Linked DNA regions of Homo sapiens: all the other regions are linked to region 3. Evidence: promoter capture Hi-C in 16 types of primary human blood cells and fetal thymus (Javierre and others, 2016). All regions are on one chromosome and are shown on one strand. Each heading gives the region's core, a stretch centred on a gene start or on the middle of the fragment in contact. The rest is flanking DNA. Distances are from core to core; before and after follow the strand shown. Region 1 overlaps PLEKHA2 (pleckstrin homology domain containing A2). Region 2 has its middle 6.2 kb from the start of PLEKHA2. Region 3 holds the start of NSD3 (nuclear receptor binding SET domain protein 3). Region 4 overlaps PLEKHA2 (pleckstrin homology domain containing A2). Region 5 overlaps RAB11FIP1 (RAB11 family interacting protein 1).

Region 1 (3,355 bases), core at 413-2,912, 550 kb after region 3:
TTTTTTTAAAAAAACGTGAAATTTTCCTAAGCAAATTTTGGCTGAAAGCCAGGAATAATTTTTGCATTGTATGCTTCAACCTGTCAGAATGCCAAGAACCAGGAAATAATGTTCTTTAAAAATTGGGCAATAGATGCACGTGGTGCAGAATTTGGAATGTAGGAATGCAGAGTTAGTGACAAATTTCTCCCTCCCACTTCTGTCCTCTCAGCAGGGGCAGCCAGTCTTGACAGTTTCTTGTGTCTGTCTGGAGATAATCTCTGCCTGAGAGACTATCTCTTAAGATCATGGTAACTTTCAGATCTTCAGCAAATTGTTTGGGCAAAGTGTCTTCAATTCATGGATTTTGTGTAATTGATATCTTAACTATCCATGTAGACTTGTGATTTCCAGGAGTCAGTGGAATATTTGATGTGCTTTTGTCTGTAGTGTGTTAGAGTAAGAACGCAGAATCCTTTGGTAAAAAAAAAATCCCAAAAGAAGATTATAAGTGACAAATCTGTACTTTTACCAAATGCAAATTTTGCTAAGGGTAAAAATATTATTAAAAAGTACTTTTTTTTTTTTTTTTTAGAGACAGGGTTCTTACTCCGTCTCCGAGACTGAAGTGTAGTGTGCAGTCAGAGCTCACTGCTGGATTTGACTGGGCCTGGTCAAAACATGCTTAGAATTAAAATTATATGTGGGCTTTTTGAGAGCTTAATGTAGAATTAGAAACTGCAATTTTGCTTTATGTGTTTTCTGTAGCCATCATATTTTTTAAACAAGTTGTATCTTTATAACAGGATGTACTTTGTCTAAATTAAAAAAAATTAAAAACTAAGCCGGGTGCGGTGGCTCACGCCTGTAATCCCAGTACTCTGGGAGGCCAAGGCAGGCGATCACCTGCGGTCAGGAGTTCAAGACCAGCCTGGCCAACATGGCGAAACCCTGTCTCTACTAAAAGTACAATAATTAGCAGGGCATGGTGGCAAGCTACTCAGGAGGCTGAGGCAGGAGAATCGCTTGAACCCGGGAGGCAGAGGTTGCAGTGAGCTGAGATCACGCCATTGCACTCTAGCCTGGGTAACAAGAGCGAGACTCCATCTCAAAAAAAACCAACCAACCAAACAAACAAACAAAAAACTAAGTAGCACATTGAAAGAATTGTGTTAAGAGTTAGCACTACTCAGTATTAAAGTCCAAGCAGCTAAACAGATAGAAGCTATGAAACTTAGCAGAGGTTAAATAACTATTGCAAAACCATAGTGATGACTATTCTAAGTTTTCTCAAAACTTCTCTTTGGTATGTTGTTGTTAGATTTTGCTTTACATTTTAACCTTCAACATTTGTTCAATGTATTTATTATATACATCTCTTTCTATATTTATAGATCTAGTTATATACCAAAGAATGGTATGACCAGACATGGTGGCTCATGTCTGTAATCCCAGGCCTGTGGGAGGATCACTTGAGGCCAGGAATTTGAGACCAGCCTGGGCAACATAGGAAGACCCCATCTCTACAAAAAATAAAATAAAATAAAGAAATTAGGCAATCGTGGTGGCATATGTCTGTAGTCCCAGGTACTTGGGACGCTGAGGTGGGAGAATCACTTGAGCTCAGGAGTTAGAGGCTGCAGTGAGCTGTGATCAGGACACTGTACTCCAGCCTGAGTTACAGAGCAAGACCCTGTCTCAAAAAAAGTCATTTTATTAATTTATTATCTAAATAGTGTCTCGAAGGCAAAGGAGGTTGGTTATTGCATGTTTGGGGGAGGGGTTCATATTAGATTTTGCTTCAGAGACCAGTTTTATTAGTTATATCAATTGAGCACAGGACAACATGATGAATATATTCATTAAGGAAACATCCATTTTTTGAGCCTCCTGTCCTCATCCACAGTATATGGTAATGATATCAATGATCTCCACCTGTGACATTGTTGCTGTGAAGAGTAAATAATGTATGTGAGAATGCTTTGATGAGCTCTAAAGTGCTACAGATGTTATCTGTTAAGAAAGTTTGTTCTGGCCAGGACATCGGGATGGATGGGGAGGTGGGGAGAGCTGGAGCTGGAGATGACGGCTGGGGATTTGTCACAGAGCTTCCTGATATGCCTGAGGTGGTGGGAATGGAGAGTGGGGGGGCAGGTTTAGAGGCTACATGAGGGAAGAATGTTTGAAAGTTTAGTACCTGGTTGACTGGGGAGAGGAGGTGGAATTACTGACAGAGGCTGGGGAGGGGAGAGGGAAACCGATTAGAAAGTGGAGGGGAAATGACATTGAGTTTGAGGCTGGATTGAAGAAAGGGCTGATGGAGTTGGCTTATTGAGTTTACAGCTTTAGAAACATTTAGGTGGCCAGCAGTCAGAGTTGGGACCCAAATGCCTCCGGGAGATTATCTGAAGCCCAGGCCTCTGACCTGGTCTTTTTTTTTTTTTTTTTTTTCTTTTTGAGATGGAGTCTCACTCACTCTGTCACCCAGGCTGGAGTGCAGTGGTGTGATCTTGGCTCACTGCAACCTCTGTCTCCTGGGTTCAAGCGATTCTCCTACCGCAGCCTCCCGGATACCTGGGATTAAAGGTGTGCGCCACCACACCCAGCTAATGTTTGTATTTTTAGTAGAGACAGGGTTTCACCATGTTGGCCAGGTTGGTCTTGAACTCCTGACCTCAAGTGATCCACCCGCCTTGGCCTCCCAAAGTGTTGAGATTACAGGCATGAATCACCGCGCCCGGCCCGACCTGGTCTTTAAGTCTCTGTCACCAGAGTTGGAAGACGGAAATAAAGGGAATGGGGGTGTGGCTGAGAGACTTAACACACAATGAAACTTATCCTGTCTAAAGCTGATACTGGTGTCTGTCAACAAGAAATCGACATCCAAGTAATAGAATAAAAACATTAAGCCCACGCAGCAGAGGATGATATAGAATCGACTTCTCCTGAAGGGAAAGATTAAATACACACTTTGAACTGGAGAATGGGGAGAGTAGCTATCAGCGTGTCGTGTGTCCCCGCGTTAGCATCAGCAAGTGGACCTACAGGGCAGAGGGGAGGAGAGGTGTTTGGCCCTAGAGCAGCAGGTAGAGCCACGGCCCAGGTCACCTGGTGCCTGGGATTCGCTTGGCTCCCCTGCTTTGGTTGCTCATGTCAGGGTGAGGGCTTTGGAATGTGGGGCAGCGGCAGCTATGCTCCTCCTTCCCAGTCCTGTCACACCGTTCTCCTACATTCAAATGTCTACTCTGAGCTATACCCCCTCTGCAGGCACATTCTTTTCTGTGAGTCTACATGGCCGTGGCTTTTGGTGGCTGAGCTATGGTTTTAGCTCACAGACAGCAATGTCAGCTCATGCCCTAGCTCTGGGATTACCAGG
Region 2 (3,691 bases), core at 1,182-3,681, 510 kb after region 3:
CAATGTTGTTATTTTGTACTTTTTTTTTTTTTTTTTGAGATGGAGTCTCGCCCTGTCACCCAGGCTGGAGTGCAATGGCGCCATCTCGGCTCAATGCAACCTCTGCCTTCCAGGTTCAAGCGATTCTCCTGCCTCAGCCTCCCAAGTAGCTGGGATTACAGGCGCCTGCCACCACGCCTGGCTAATTTTTTGTATCTTTAATAGAGATGAGATTTCACCATGTTGGCCAGGCTGGTCTCGAACTCCTGACCTCGTGATCCGCCCACCTTGGCCTCCCAATCTGCTGGGATTACAGGCGTGAGCCACCACGCCCAGCCCATTATTTTGTACTTTTAAAAAATAATTGGTAACTCCTTTGTATGTGAGAACACAAGAATTTAGAAGTCAAGCAGGGAAGCATCGACTTCATTCTTTTCTACTGTGTGATTCTGAGATGCTATTGTTCTCCTTAAAACCTAAATTTTCCATCTGTAAAGTGAGATGAAAAATCTCTAATTCCCTGAGAGTGGGGGAAAAGGAATATTTAATTCTTTTGAACTTTGTACTGTGTATATATATTGCCTATTAACAAAATAATAAAAGGACATAAGTCTACGTGTCCAAATATCCTTTTTGCTTTTCTTTGTTTTCTATGGTTTATAATAATCAGCTTGTATTGGGAATCACTGATGTAAAAGTCAACCCACTTCACTGACTACCATAGGCATCTCTTGGAATAAACTGGCTAGAGTTTATTCTTGCTAATAACTTTGACTATATTCACCCACAAGTATTTACTAAGAGTAGCCCCTGTGTGGCCTCAGTACTGAAGTAGTGAATTATTTAACTAGTCTATAGTGAATTATTTAACTAGTCTAAGCAAAAATAAAGTCAAACAGTGCTAAAACATGGTCATAGATCCAAAGTTAAGTACCTATTCATTCTCTCACTCTGAACTGGGAAGTCCCAGTTCTTCCCTCTAATTGCAGGGCATCACTGAGGATGCAGAATTCCGAGTGGTGCACTACACTTATTCAAACTGATGGGAAAACAATGCCATCAGCATGAATCAATAGGAATGGTGCTCTTGGCCAGGAGACTGTTATTTCTGGGGACGGCACGCACACTCATTTCTGAGGCTGAGAAATGACACTATTAGTGTTAGACTTAGCAGTACAACAATGCTTTCCAAACTTTTTTACTAGGAAATAACTTTAGCACCAGTAAGTATGTATGTATATGTGTGTATGTATATATATTTATATGTATATCTCCTGTTTATATTTTACAAGTCTGATTTTATAAACTTCCAGATGTTCCACCAGAGTTTTCTCTTTTTTGATTTTACCTTATTACTGTCCTTTACTGCTGTTCCTCTTACTCTATAAACAGAAATTTCCTAAGCTTCTTCCACTCCCCATTTTCCTACTCTCAAGGCTCTGAGAATTTGAGCTAAGAGACAACCTTAAGTATTGGGCAAAGGTCACTGAACTACCATTCAGAACCCAGGGATTCAGATCATGACTGGCTGTGTGATTCTGAGATGCTATTGCTCTCTTAAAACCTAAATTCTTCCATCTGTAAAATGAGATGAAAAATCTCTAATTCCCTGAGAGTGGGGGAAAAAGAATAGTTAATAATTTATCATGAAGTGTTAGCTCTTTGGGATAAAAGTTTCAAATGAAATACGAGGATTTAAATCCAAAGGTATGACACTGATTTTTCAAATTTAGCATTGTCAGCACTTAACCATGTTTCCTAAAAGCATGAATTCACTCAATCCCAAATGCCATGGTATGAGACAGTTATCTGTCATCACCACCTTCCCCATTTTATAGAAGCACAGAGAAGTCACTGGTCCCTGGCTATTCAGCTAATTAGTGACAGAGTCAGGAGTCAAAACTAGGTAGCTGGGTGCCAGAGTCTAGTTACTAGGCAGCCAGTAACTACGAAATCACAGCCAGTTAACTTCCAACTGTGTCCCTTCCTTGCTCAAAAGCCTTCAGTGGCTCTTGAAGCCTAATAATAAGTACAGACTCCTTAGCTTAGCAATAAAGACACTCCAGCTACCTTTCTTTCCTGTTTCATTCCCCATGAAAATCCTTCCTATGTCCTCCCGTGCTCCAGCTCAACTGTACCAGCCACACTTCCCTGAATAGATCCCATGTGGTCCTGCTCTGTGCTTTGCCTCTGATCATCTCTGTATCTGGAATCCACCTATTCTCACCTCCTCTTCACTTTTCTACATTTTAACCTTTCTTTCAAGGTCCTTGCAAGGGGCCATGTCCTTCATGCATTTTCCCCTGCCCTTCTCAACCACAGCTGGTTGATAATCTTCCCGGGGAATTTTATCTCTGCTCTCCTCTGCATGTATCAGTTTCTGTACATACTATGTTCCCTCCTTAGTAAGAGATGAGCTCCTCGAAGGCTGCAATATTATTTTCTTCCTCATGGAACTTTTAAATTTTATTAAAAATTTAAGCCATTCCTGTTCTTTTTTTAAAAAAAAAACCAAATGCATGCATGCTTGTTGCAAAAAAAGAACCCTCACAGAATACATCTCTTAGAAAGTGAAATCCACCATTATCACCCCTCTACCCCTGCCCTAAGAGAACTGTGGTTAACAGTTTGGAATGTATTCTTATAGAGCTTTTTCATGCAAAAAATTATTTACAGAAATGGAATTATACTACATGTAAAGCTCTGTACTTTTTTCACTTAAAATGTATAGTATTTTTCATATAGATATCTACCTCATTCTTTTTTTTTTTTTTTTTTTTTTTGAGACAGCGTCTGGTTCTGTTGCCCAGGCTGGAGTGTAGTGATGGAATCATAGTTCACTGCAACCTTGAACTCCTGGGCTCAAGTGATCCTCTTGCCTCAGCCTCCTGAGTAGCTGGGGCTACAGGTGTGCACCACCATGTCCAGCTAATTTTTAAAAATCGTTCCCAGAGACAGATCTCGCCATGTTGACCATGTTAGTCTGGAACTCCTGGGCTCAAGTGATTCTCCTGCTTTGACCTTTCAAACTGCTGGAATTATAGGCATGAGCCACCCCACCCAGCCCTCATTCTTTTCTAAGTGCAGCATAGCATAAGATTGTAGTGATGCACCTGTTCAATCCCTTCTTGATGCGCATGAAAGTGATTTCCAATTTTTACCATTATGACCAATGCTGCAGTGAATATAAATACATATGTGTGTGCATGTATTGCTATCTATATATCCATATAACTTTCTTTGGATAGGCAATTGCTAGGTGAAATGGAATGGAGATTCTAAATGATGATAAATATAGGAAGTGTCAGCGGTGGGAAGGAAGAGTCTTGTTTTATGCTTTTCTGCATCCTTCACAAGGCCTAACATTGCATCTACCAGTGTAGCTTGGTAGGTAAAAGACCAGGCTCTGGCCTCTGGCTGTCCAGGTTTGTATCAGGGCTTTATCTGTATGCCTTAGCCATCTCATCACCATAAAATAATGGCAGGGTCATTGTCATTATAAAGCTTAAATGAGATAATACATGCATAACAATTAGCAATTAGTAAGTACCTGGAAAACAAGTAAATGCAAGACATACAGAAGGAAAAATGGTAATGGGTTCAGATAATTGTTTGTTGAATGAATTGGACTGAATAAAACAATGGCAGTTTGAGCAATCATTCTAGAAATGGATGGTACAGAACTATTCATACTTTGCTATCAAAACCCATA
Region 3 (3,680 bases), core at 68-2,567:
AACACATCGCCTTCTCCCTCAAAACAGTAAAACCCACACCTCCCCATTTCACAACAATCACAATCCCATAACCACCAGCTTCTCTATTCTCTAGCCTTGAAAGAAAGACACAGAATACACACAAATACAGGAACAAAAGGCCTCCCTTCCTAACACTTTAACGACCTCCATCCCCTTCTCTTCCTCCCACTCTGACGCTAAGTCGATCGTTCTCATCCCTGTCATCATTCAGTTAATTTCCTTCCCTAGCCCAATCCTGTCTTCCAGTTTCCTGCGTCTATTTCCCATTCTCCTATTGCAGCCTGCCTCATCCCCTTTCCTAATCCACCTTTTCCTTCACTTCCATTCCTCATTTCTCCCTTCATTCCCATAAAATGCCCCATTTCTCCAGCAAATTTATCCCCTTCTCCCAGACTCTTCTGGTTCCTACACTCCATCCCCAAATCTCCCTATTTATCAGTCCACCCAGGTCTGTAATCTCCATGCAACTCTTCTCCCCTTTCCCTGCCCCTCCCCGATCCATCCTTATCCCCGCCCCCATCCCACTTTCCCAATTCCCAGCTCAGCGCCACTCCGACTCCCATCCCACTCCCCACCTCCCCTGGCCCACCCCCCAATTCCCTCCACACCCCCCACCTTGCCATCTGCTCCTCCGTCAGGACTCCCCTCGAGCCCTTTCAGGCCACCCGCTTCCCCTTCCATTCCTCCTGGGGTCTGGCGCTCCATCCCTAGGTCGCCCCCTCCCCGTCGTTCCCTCCTCAGCCCTTCCTAGCACTACACACGCGCGCGCGCGCACACACACACACACACACACACACACATACACACACGCACACGCACTTTACCTTCAGTTTGTTCCATTCTAACCCCCCGGCCGTGTCAGTGCGATCACAGGAGAGACACGGAGGCCCGGAGTGGGGCTGGGGTGCGGGCAGCCGCTGGGGCCGCGCGAGGAGGAGGCGGAACCGAGCTAGGCCGCATGAAATCCCCGGGCTAGATTTTCCCCGCGCCGGACGCCTCTGCCATGGCGGCCGGCACTGAGGAGGGCCACGGCCGGGCCGGGCCGGGCGTGCTGCGGGAAGAGGAAGGCTCGGGAGGTGGGATGGGAAGGGGAGGCCGAGGGACGGGGGTCGCCGCGCCGCCGCTGCTGCCAGAGAGGAGCCTGCGGCTGGCAGCCCGGCCTGGGTAGCACGGTCCTCGGCGCTCGGCTCGGAATTCGCACGCCTCTCCGCGGCGACCTGTGCACAGCCCCCTCGGCCTCCGCCTCCGTGCTGGCCGCCGCCGCCGCCTCTCCCGCCGCCGCCGCGCACAAAGCCCCCCCACCCCGACTCTCGGGGCGCCGCCGCCGCCAAATCCTCAGCCCCTCATTGGCCGCGGGCCGCGGCGCCTGCCGGGAAATGCAGTCCCTGGTTCGGGACGCTGGGGCTCCGGAGGAAGCGGCGAGTCGGCGGGGCGGAGGGGGCGGGAGCGCGAACCAGGAACGCCCGCGGCAGCTAGCGTCTGGACGACTAGGGAGACCGGGCGAGAGGGCCGAGGAACGAGGGACGGGGAGGGACTGTACGTGGGAGAGTGACACACAAAACACCCCGGGAAGCCGGAGGAGGCGTGGAAAGGTGGGGCCCGGGAGGTAAAACTGGGATCGGCGCGTTCAGTGAGGCTGATTAAAGAACAACGCGCAACCAGCGCCATACGGCGCTCCTCAGGGTGACTCGGCTCTCTAGCTCTTAAGGGTTAGAAGCGACCCTCGCACGGTCCCCGGTGGGTCACCGCGCGAGGGCGGGGCAGTCCAGGCGACCCCTCGGCCGTCTCCCGTCCTACGGCTGTCAGGGAAGGGCTCCGGTTCCGGTAGGGTCTGCATTTGGAAAGCCGGGGGCGATGCAAGACCGCCTTGGCGTCGTCTCCCTCTCAGCCCCGGCTGAGCTGTCGGATGGTCCCCCTCCCCCGGTTGCAAGCAGTAGGAGACCCGGCCGGCGGCGCCGGCTCGCCGAGGGAGCGCCTCGACCTCCCCGGCAGGCGCCGGCCCCGCGCGCCTCTTCCTGCTCTGCTGCGGCCCGGAGGCTTGTGGGTAACCGGGAGGACGACGTCAGCGCCCGCCGCATCCCCGGGTGCCCCCCAGCCGCGGGGGACCGCGACGGCTCCGTGACCGTCACGTGCCGGAGGCCGCGGCTGCTCGCGGCCAGACCTTCGCATCGAGGGACGTGAGGGACATTTGTCCTAGAGGGCCCAAGATAAGAACGAGAGGAAGAACCGGGAGGCAACTCTCCGTCATCCTCTAGCCCCCCGCATCCTAGGAAACGTATGGAAAACAATGGAAGGTTAAGTGTGTGCACAGTGATCTGGCCCTGCAGGAGTGTGCCGACCAGGTGATATTTCCTGGGGCCTGGTGATAAGGATTTGGAAGGTTACAGCACAGAGACGTGAACGTAAAAAGGAAACAGAGGCAGCAAGCAAATGAGGAAACCGATACTCTGTTCTGAGAATAAAGCCATTTTACCGCTAGACGTCATACTCTGTAGACGTTATAGTGCTGGATGTCTTTGGTACTATTACAAGAAATTAGATATCTCTATCTTTAAATATCACTTAAGGAAATTAAATGATTTCTACAGATCAGTTATTTAAAAGGGCACTAATTATGAACTATTTTTTTTAAACGTAACCCGGTTAATACTAGATACTGAGAATTATCAGTATTGGCTGGGCGCAGTGGCTCACGCCTGTAATCCCAGCACTTTGGGAGGCCGAGGCAGGCGGATCACGAGGTCCGGAAATCGAGACCATCCTGGCTAAGACGGTGAAACCCCGTCTCTACTAAAAATACAAAAAATTAGCCGGGCGTGGTGGGGGGCGCCTGTAGTCCCAGCTACTCAGGAGGCTGAGGCAGGAGAATGGCGTGAACCCGGGAAGCGGAGCTTGCAGTGAGCCGAGATCGCGCCACTGCACTCCAGCCTGGGCGACACAGAGAGGCTATGTCTCAAAAAAAAAAAAAAAAATCTCATTACTATTAATCATTAAATATTTTTAAACGTATGCTTTAAGTAGTACCACAAGTTACAGCTATCAGTAAAAGCATACTTTTTATTTGTGATATGACATTTTAAAACACAGATGGCCAAAGCGGGCCACCAAGTCTAGCTTAATTCTATCTCCAGGAAAGAGGGATTAAATTGGTCTTTTTTTTTTTTCTATGAGCCTTTCTACCTCCATTCTTCTTTTTCTTCCTCCTGTGTCTTCCTTGCTTTGTTGATAAACTGTTGCCTTGACCCGGCACCTGGGTTTCTCCCTTGAGGAGAATCTAGTAAATTGTCCCCAGGGATCTTATATTAGCCTGTTTCTAATAGCTATGCTGACAGCAAGAGTTTAAAATTGGAGTTATGTGAAGTAGATGCATAGTCTTTTCCTGCAAAACATTACAAAATACAGTTAGTATACTTGATCTGGTGGCATATTTAGGAAAATGGCCATTAAAAATAATAGTTTACATTTTCAGTATCTAACATCTTCTGAGGTTTAGACGATGCTTACTGTTCGCCATAGAAAATGAACAAGGAGCTCATTAAGACAGCAATCTAACACAATTCTCAGGGCCAGAGTCATGGAGGAAAAAATATTTTTTTAAAAATTTCTCTTCTGAAGATTACATACAGAATCTTACATGATAAATCTCTTATCCTGAAAGT
Region 4 (3,778 bases), core at 994-3,493, 560 kb after region 3:
AACATAGCAAGACCCTGTTTCTGCAAATATTTTTCTTTTTTAAAAAAAACTAGCCAGGCATAGGGGCATTTAAAAAAAATTAGCCAGGAGGTGGAGACTGGAGGATCACTTGAGCCCAGGAGTTGGAGGCTGCAGTGAGCTATGATTGCACCACTGTACTCCAGCCTGGGTGACAGAGTGAGACCCTATATCTAAATAAATAAATAAATAATAAACATAAGTCTTTTTGTAAAGATGAACAGACCTCAAGATAATGGTTATCTCTGACGGTGGGGATTCTGTCAGGGAGGGGCACACAGGGCTTCTAAGAAATAGGACTGATAATGCCTGTTTCTTAATCTGGATGATGAGTACAGGGTTTTCATTTAATTATTATTTTTTAAAAATGTAGACATATGTTTAATGTACTCTTTATATATGAGAAATTTCACAATAAGAAATCTTCAACATTGTAAGACACATATTCATGTTTCTTTTATTTCTTATTTGATTTAGGTGAGCATAGCTACCCCAAAACAGAAACCAAAAACTCCATTTTGCTTTGGTAAGTACTGAGCCAGGGGAGGGACTCATTTAATATTGACATGGCAACTTCCTCTTTTGCATGGAGACAGTCCTGTGATCACATGTGACTATACCCTGTGAGTATGAGTGACTTAAATCACAGTGACGGTCCTGGACGTCAAGTGATATTGTTTTCCCTGGTCTTGCTGCAAAGGTTGTTAATAACATAAGGACAGAGGTTCAGGGACTAGTAACATTTCTGTTTTCTTTCTTTTTTTTTTGGTTTTAGTTTTATTTTTTAAGTTGACAAATAATAATTATATATATTCATGGGGTACATAATGTATAGAGTAATTAGCATATCTATATTAGTCTGTTCTTGAACTGCTATAAAGAAATACCTGAGACTGGGTAATTTAAAAAGAGAACAGGTTTGCCCGGGCCTGGTGGCTCACACCTATAATCCCAGCACGTTGGGAGGCCGAGGCGGGCAGATCACCTGAGATCAGGAGTTTGAGACCAGCCTGGCCAACATAGTGAAACCCCATCTCTACTAAAAATACAAAAAAATTAGCTGGGCGTGGTGGTGAGTACCTGTAATTCCAGCTACTCGGGAGGCTAAGGCAGGAGAATCTCTTGAACCCAGGAGGCGGAGGTTGCAGTGAGCTGATTTCAGGCCATTGCACTCTACTCCACCTCAAAAAAAGAAAAAAAAAAGAGGTTTAATTGGCTCAGTGTTCTGCAGGCTCTATGGGGCCAGAGGAGAAGCAAGAAAGAGAGTGGGGAGGTGCTATGCATATTTAAATAACCAAATTTCACAAGAACTCACTATTATGACACAACAGCATGGGGGATGGTGTTAAACCATGAGAAACCGCCCCCACGACCCATCATGATCCAGTCACCTCCCACCAGGCCCCACCTCCAACATTGAGGATTACAATTGAACATGAGATTTGGGTAGGGACACAGATTTGGGTGGGGACAGAGATCCAAACCATATCAATGTCCATCATCTCGAACATTTTTTTCTTTTAATAATTGTCCATATGCATTTCAGTTTTCTTGATGCCACAAGGCAGGTGCAAAATGTCCACTATAAGTTTCTGTGAACCTTATTTTAGAGCTGAGAAATGTTGTGCTCAGAAAAGATGGAGGACTCAGAGGAGACGCAGATGGCAGTGCCAGGAAGGGGATAAGACAAAGGAAGGAGAATTCTGTTAAGGGTCTCAGTTGCCCAATAGTGACATGTTGGGGGATGGTGTAGGAGGCAGAGTCACCGTGCATGGGTGCCTCAAGTCAGGAAGTGGTCAGTGAATTCAGTGAATCCATCATCAAATAGTTACTTGGCTCCTACTATGTTCTCACAGCTGTGCTAAGTGCTATGAGCAAATGCTAACAAATAGTTTCTGTTGCCTATCTGGGGTGGTTCTGAATGTAAGTTTCACAAAGGCAGGGGTATTCCTCTGCCTTGTCACTGTGGTATCCTCAGCACTTAAAGATGTTTCCTAGCGCATAGTAGGTGCTCAGTAAATATTTGTCAAATGAATGAATGAACGGATGAATTCTGCATCTACCCCATGAGACTCACCTCCTACAGTTCAAGCTTATGCTAAGAGAATAAAGTATTCCCTTGAGCGATTCTGTCTCCCCACCTCAGATTTGTTCAGACTTCTTTGGCATGCTCATTCTTCTATTTCTTGCAAATTTCATAGCTAAGCTCAGAAATGACTCTCACGTTTTGTGGTTATCAGATCTGAAAATATATATATGTAATAATAGTGAATGTGGAAGTAAATTGTTGACCTAATGGAATGCTCAGAGGAAAGAACAGGTTGAGAGTGAGGCCAAGGTCACAGATTTGATCTCAGGAAAGCTTTGTTCTATTTCCCAACCACAGACAACTCTCCCAGTCCAGACCAGTTGTGCCAGAGGAGACCAAGCATGGGTCCAAAATTCTGTATATACCGTGATGACAGTAAATGTATTAGCACCGCCAGAATGCGGTTCACAGTTGTGTCTTGTTGACGGCAGACCAGCAGCCTCATCACCGCAGAACAGCACACTGAGGCTGCTGTTAACATGGTCAGGTGTTGTTCCTGTGGCCAATGGGATGTTTTTAAAGGTGGGAAAGAGAGTGAGCAGGTGTGGCCTGGGGCTTCCTAGATATCCAGGCAAATGACTTAGCATCATGGGAGATTTCTTGTTCTGCTTTGTGGAGTTCACTCATCTCACTCCCTCAAACACCTTAGCTTTGTGGAGACTTGTTGTATTGCTTGTATTCTGACCTAGGAATGTCTTCCCTTCTTTTCTGTGGCTTTTGTAGTTATCAATGCCCTGTCTCAGAGATATTTCCTTCAAGCCAATGATCAGAAAGATATGAAGGACTGGGTTGAAGCCCTGAACCAAGCCAGCAAGATCACCGTAAGTTTGGTTTCTTCTGTTTTCTGGTGGTAGTAAAAGTGCCTCTTCCCAGGCTATGGCCTTGTTGGGGTTGGGGAAAACTGAGATGGCAGCGGGGACTTTCCCAGGAGCCTGGTCTGTACCCAGTTCTCTCCCACCTCGTCTTTTTCCTTGGCTGACCAAACACAAGTTGAACTGAGAGTCTGAGTTTGAATCAAGTTCAAGGGGAAGTTCATGGAGCGTCCCCTTTGTGCTTCCTGGGAGGGCTCCCGATCAGTCATGTTTCGGGTGATTCTGGGATGCTGATTCAGAATGTGGTAGGATTGGAAAATGGATTGGTGACTGTGAAAAGTCAAGTAAGGGGAAAAGCATATGGGGAGGGAAGTCAGAACTTTTTCCCAGCTTGGGGGATACTCTTCTTACTTTCAGAGGCTGCCTGCAGGGTCAGTCCAAGCCATCCGCCTCCCTGTCCTAGAAAAGCCTTCTGTTTAAAAGCATCACAGAGCTCGTTCATGGACTGTCCTACGAGTGTGCTCTTTTTCCTTGAGTTGGCTAATGAAGAATTCCTTTCTTTTTCCTTAGAGATATAGAAAAAGAAAGGAAGAAGGGTAGGAAGGATGGAGAGGGGAAACTATGTTTTGGAAAAAACTAGACTTTTAATCAATAAGACAGGCAGACTCCTGGCTTATATAGATCATGGCTTCTTTGCTGAAAAGTTTGTTTCTGTATCATACAGTCAGAAATGCTTATGTTTGAGGGGCTTCCAGTAGTGACTATTACATGCTGCAGCAAATTATCCTCCCAGATTTCTCAGGGTTCCTGTGAACAACTGTATAGAAGAAATTTGTACACGTATATAGTATTCATATTG
Region 5 (3,914 bases), core at 520-3,019, 520 kb before region 3:
ATGTGCACACACACCTGTATCTCCTTCATACAGGCATATGCAGAGCCCTCACCAATCGGGGTCCACAGCTGTTCAGTATGGCAAAGGGCAGACTTACTCCTTCATCCACTCTGCTGCCTTGATGAGGTGAACACACTGGAATAAGATGGAGGGCAGGATACCTGCCAAAGCCTGAGGCATGAGATGATCTGAAACAATTGGGCAAAGGCTGGACATTTCAAAAAGCTGACTTCCAACTGCAGTTTATGGGTATAGAATTTGATGCTTCCCTCAAGTCCTGACTGCTCTTTCTGAGGCAGCCAGGCTAGGCCAAGAAATGAGCTGCTCCAGCTTCTCCAGAGCACAGCAGCCTCCCAGGGCCTGTCAGCATCTGCAGCAGCTGGAAGGAGGTCCCAGCTCTTCTGAGACATAGGCCATTTGTAGGATTCTCCAGTGCTCCAATTCACTAATGTCTCCTAATGGCTCAGAACAGGCTAAAGCTTCTCCCAGATAACCCCTCCCCCAAAACTGAGTCCTCAGGGACAGTTGTTAACTGAATGACCTCCAGGTTATCTACTTTGGGAGGTGCAGGAATGCTATAAACTGAATTTTTTCCCAGCAGCAGCAGAAGCCAGGCACCCTTGAGTCAATTGTCCTTCATTGTCCAGAGCTACCAAGTGGCATTTCAGAGCACAGGAATTTACTCCTCCACCCAGATGTCCCTCTCATATGGACTGAGTCACACACCCCAGGTCCTAGCAGCAGACATCTCCAAACCAACATCCTTGTGAACACTGCAGATCTCTACGCCAGCTCTCCAATGGAAGAAGAACCACATAGAGCACACCTGCCCCCCAGGGCACTTGGACTATCACAGTAAAAATACATTTATATCAAGTAAAAAACATAATGCAGGACAAATATATACATGTACCTTTTCTTTCTTTCTTTTTTTTGAGACAGAGTCTCGCCCGTTGCCCAGGCTGGAGTGCAATGATGTGATCTCAGCTCACTGCAACCTCCACCTCCCTGGCTCAAGCGATTCTTGTGCCTCAGCCTCCCGAGCAGCTGAGATTACAGCTGTCTGCCACCACACCCAGCTAATTTCTGTATTTTTTAGTAGAGACGGGGTTTTGCCATGTTGGCCAGGCTGGTCTCGAACTCCTGACCTCAATCAAGTGATTCACCCGCCTCAGCCTCCCAAAGTGCTGGGATTACAGGCGTGAGCCACCGCGTCCAGCCATACATGTACATTTTCAGAGTTCAAGTGAACATACAGTTTTCTTTATAAGTATGTAAATAAATTTCATAGCACTACAAAAATACAAGTCATCTGAGAAGTTTACAGTGGTCCCAGTACTGTAGGAGAGAATTAAATAAAATAAAATAGCTGTAGATAATTAAAAGCTAATTAGATAAATCAAGTTACAGTATCATCCTTCAGATTAAAGTGCTCTGATATAACCAATGCCACAGCAAACGAAATCCTGGAAAGAGATTGCACTGCCAATGATTTTGTCTCTTAACCTCAATGTAACAAGGACACACATAAAAGAGATTCCTGATTTAATAACTGCTATCATCTTCACCCCCAACCACGCTATTAGCCTGTGATATTCTTCCCCTAGGAGAGATGTCAAGATTAGATGAGATTCTATCATAGCCAGGGAAAAAAATGAGAAATACCAGAAACATTCTAATTCCAGTCTTAAGTGAGTAACAACAAAATTACCTGAAAAATCTCAGCTGGTGCTTTTAGCTAAGAAGGAAGCAAGTGCCCTAGTTAAAAAAAAAAAAAGTCTATAAATCTAGTTTTAAAAATACAAATTCAAAAATAAGTATCATCTTCTTGCTCTGCACAGTTTTATAACAAGGGGGTAAAATGCTGGTGAGTCTATTCATGAGGGAAAATGGAAAAAAAGCAACCATTTGAAGGCTGAGGCACCTGTTTTCTACTGACTTTTAACTTTTATTAACTACATTAAGCCCTTCACTACAATTTCCCCAGTATCCCACAAATAATTTGGGTTTCCTTTTGGGCAGGGAGAGAAAGTGTTCAAAGGACAGACATGCAGATGCAGTTCAATCCCTTTGGGGTCCAATCCATGGTCTCCTGTCCCCTGTAGAGTGAAGGGGCTTCTTTTTTTCTTTTTAGTTTTTTTTAAGACAGAGTCTTAAAAAAATTGCCCAGGCTCTTTTTTTAAGAGTCTTAAAAAAACTCTTGCCCAGGCTGGAGTGCAGTGGCACGATCTTGGCTCGCTGCAGCCTCCATCTCCCAAGTTCAAGCAATTCTCCTGCCCCAGCCTCCCGAGTAGCTGGGATTACAGGCACGCACCACCATGCCAAGCTAATTTTTGTATTTTTAGTAGAGATGGGGTTTCGCCATGTTGGTCAGGCTGGTCTCGAACTCCTGACCTCAAGTGATCCACCCTCCTCGGCCTTGCAAAGTGCTGGGATTACAGGCATGAGCCACCACGACTGGCCTGAAGGGGCTTCTTCATCTTGGGGAGTTGGTGGACCCTGTCTCTGCCCCTTACAAGGAGTGTTGCTGAGGAAACCAGAGCACCGAGCAAAGGCACAGGGGGAAAAGGCCAAGCAATCGTATTGACATCATTCCACACCTGGAGAACTGTATTAGCGAGTGCGTGGACCACCCAATCCCCTAGCAAAGCGCTGAATAGGCTGGTCTAGCCAGCAGGAACCTGGCTGTCATAAGAGGAGGGGCTTTCACCAAGTTCCTCAAATTGAATAAAGAGTAATTCTTTTAATTCCTGAATTCTACTTTTCCTATCTCCAGTAGAAGGGCCCTGGATCTAAGCAGAAGGTATTTTAAGGCTAGAGAGTAGTAGAAGTCGATGTTTAGAAAAGGCCGCTTGTTCAAAATCTGAAAGGCATACTCAGAGGCTTTCTCTAAACACCTCTGTTCCCATCAAAAAACAAGACCCAAGTCTGAGAAGCTGGGTAGGTTTACATGGTATCAAAATTTAACATCTGCAGCCAAAAGCCACACCTGAGCTACTCAGAAGCCAAGAAAGTATGTGTATGTAACACAGCACCAATCGCATGGTCCTTTTCTCATTTAAAGCTTTCTCAGGTAAGCTTTAAGAGCTGGAGGATACATACTGAAAAAAAATCTCAGTATGAAAGAAAGAAAACCCCAGTGTTAAAATACATGAATACTTCCTGTGCCATCTGAATCTCTGGCTCAGGATCAGATCTTATGACCACATCTCTGGTGGGCATAAAATATTTACAACCTTGTTAAAGGCACAGTGGCATTTAAAACTAAAGCCTTGGGAATGTACAGTAAAAGATTAATTGTAATCATTAACCTGGCTTCCATTGGTAGAATTCACTCTTGCCGGATAACATGTGAGGGAGATGGTGATTCGGAGCCTGCTGGCTGGTTATCAGGCAAGGCAAGTCCTTGACCCCTGGAGCAGGTGAAAGTGAAGTCACAGAAACGTCTCGGTGTTTTTTTTCTGCTGATTTACATCTTTCCTGCTTTTTTGCCAACCTGAGTCGGGATGCGGAGGATATTGGGGGTTTCTTCCATGACCCTGACAAGCAGGTTGTCAATGTAGTCTTCCAGCTCGCGGACCTGGAACTCCTTCTTGCTTATCGTTTCCTTCTGTTTGAGGACCAGCTGAATCAGCTCATCGTGGGTCAGCTGCGCATATGCAAATGCAGGGTCCGAGGGGCTGTATTTCTTTGGAGGGGGGGAAATAGTTGGGAAAAAGGAGTTATAAAATTAGCACAGAAACCTAAAACCTAAAAGAAGTACAAAGGAGGAAAAAGTGACTAGTGATCTGGGTCTCTTGGGAATCCATTTTCTTTCTTTCTTTCTTTCTTTCTTTTTGAGACTGAGTTTCACTCTGTCACCCAGCCTGGAGTGCAGTGGCGCGATCTCAGCTCACTGCAACCTCCGCCTCCTG

Evidence for each region. The method cuts DNA at HindIII sites, captures the fragments that hold promoters and counts their contacts. A CHiCAGO score of 5 or more calls a contact.
Region 1: a contact is called between a fragment that was not itself captured here and the fragment with the promoter of NSD3 in region 3, in 1 of 17 cell types (neutrophils). The highest score is 6.4, in neutrophils.
Region 2: a contact is called between a fragment that was not itself captured here and the fragment with the promoter of NSD3 in region 3, in 3 of 17 cell types (total CD8 T cells, non-activated CD4 T cells and naive CD8 T cells). The highest score is 7.3, in total CD8 T cells.
Region 4: a contact is called between a fragment that was not itself captured here and the fragment with the promoter of NSD3 in region 3, in 5 of 17 cell types (naive CD8 T cells, total B cells, total CD8 T cells and 2 more). The highest score is 7.9, in naive CD8 T cells.
Region 5: a fragment that was not itself captured here is called in contact with the fragment with the promoter of NSD3 in region 3 in 5 of 17 cell types (neutrophils, erythroblasts, fetal thymus and 2 more); the score reaches 10.3 in neutrophils.

What each region holds. Positions count from the first base shown.
Region 1 is chr8:38,925,827-38,929,181 of GRCh38, forward strand. The region is part of intron 2 of PLEKHA2 (pleckstrin homology domain containing A2); the gene reads left to right. Among named protein-coding and RNA genes, the nearest start is that of PLEKHA2, 26 kb to the left of the region's middle. The HindIII fragment of the contact is 8,936 bases long and covers 1-3,355 here.
Region 2 is chr8:38,893,346-38,897,036 of GRCh38, forward strand. No RefSeq gene overlaps it. Among named protein-coding and RNA genes, the nearest start is that of PLEKHA2, 6.2 kb to the right of the region's middle. The HindIII fragment of the contact is 2,100 bases long and covers 1,382-3,481 here.
Region 3 is chr8:38,380,954-38,384,633 of GRCh38, forward strand. NSD3 (nuclear receptor binding SET domain protein 3) reads right to left here and starts at 1,318. Exons shown (of 24, transcript NM_023034.2): 1 at 846-1,318. It also overlaps a transcript of LETM2 not described here. RefSeq lists enhancers at 1-375, 666-1,456 and silencers at 1,105-1,504, 1,535-1,684, 1,875-2,224. The HindIII fragment of the contact is 5,398 bases long and covers 1-3,680 here.
Region 4 is chr8:38,943,294-38,947,071 of GRCh38, forward strand. It overlaps PLEKHA2 (pleckstrin homology domain containing A2), which reads left to right. Exons shown (of 12, transcript NM_021623.2): 4 at 496-544; 5 at 2,831-2,928. Among named protein-coding and RNA genes, the nearest start is that of HTRA4, 29 kb to the right of the region's middle. The HindIII fragment of the contact is 270 bases long and covers 2,109-2,378 here.
Region 5 is chr8:37,859,426-37,863,339 of GRCh38, forward strand. It overlaps RAB11FIP1 (RAB11 family interacting protein 1), which reads right to left. Exons shown (of 6, transcript NM_001002814.3): 6 at 1-3,688. The coding sequence ends at 3,470. Among named protein-coding and RNA genes, the nearest start is that of BRF2, 12 kb to the left of the region's middle. The HindIII fragment of the contact is 2,585 bases long and covers 478-3,062 here.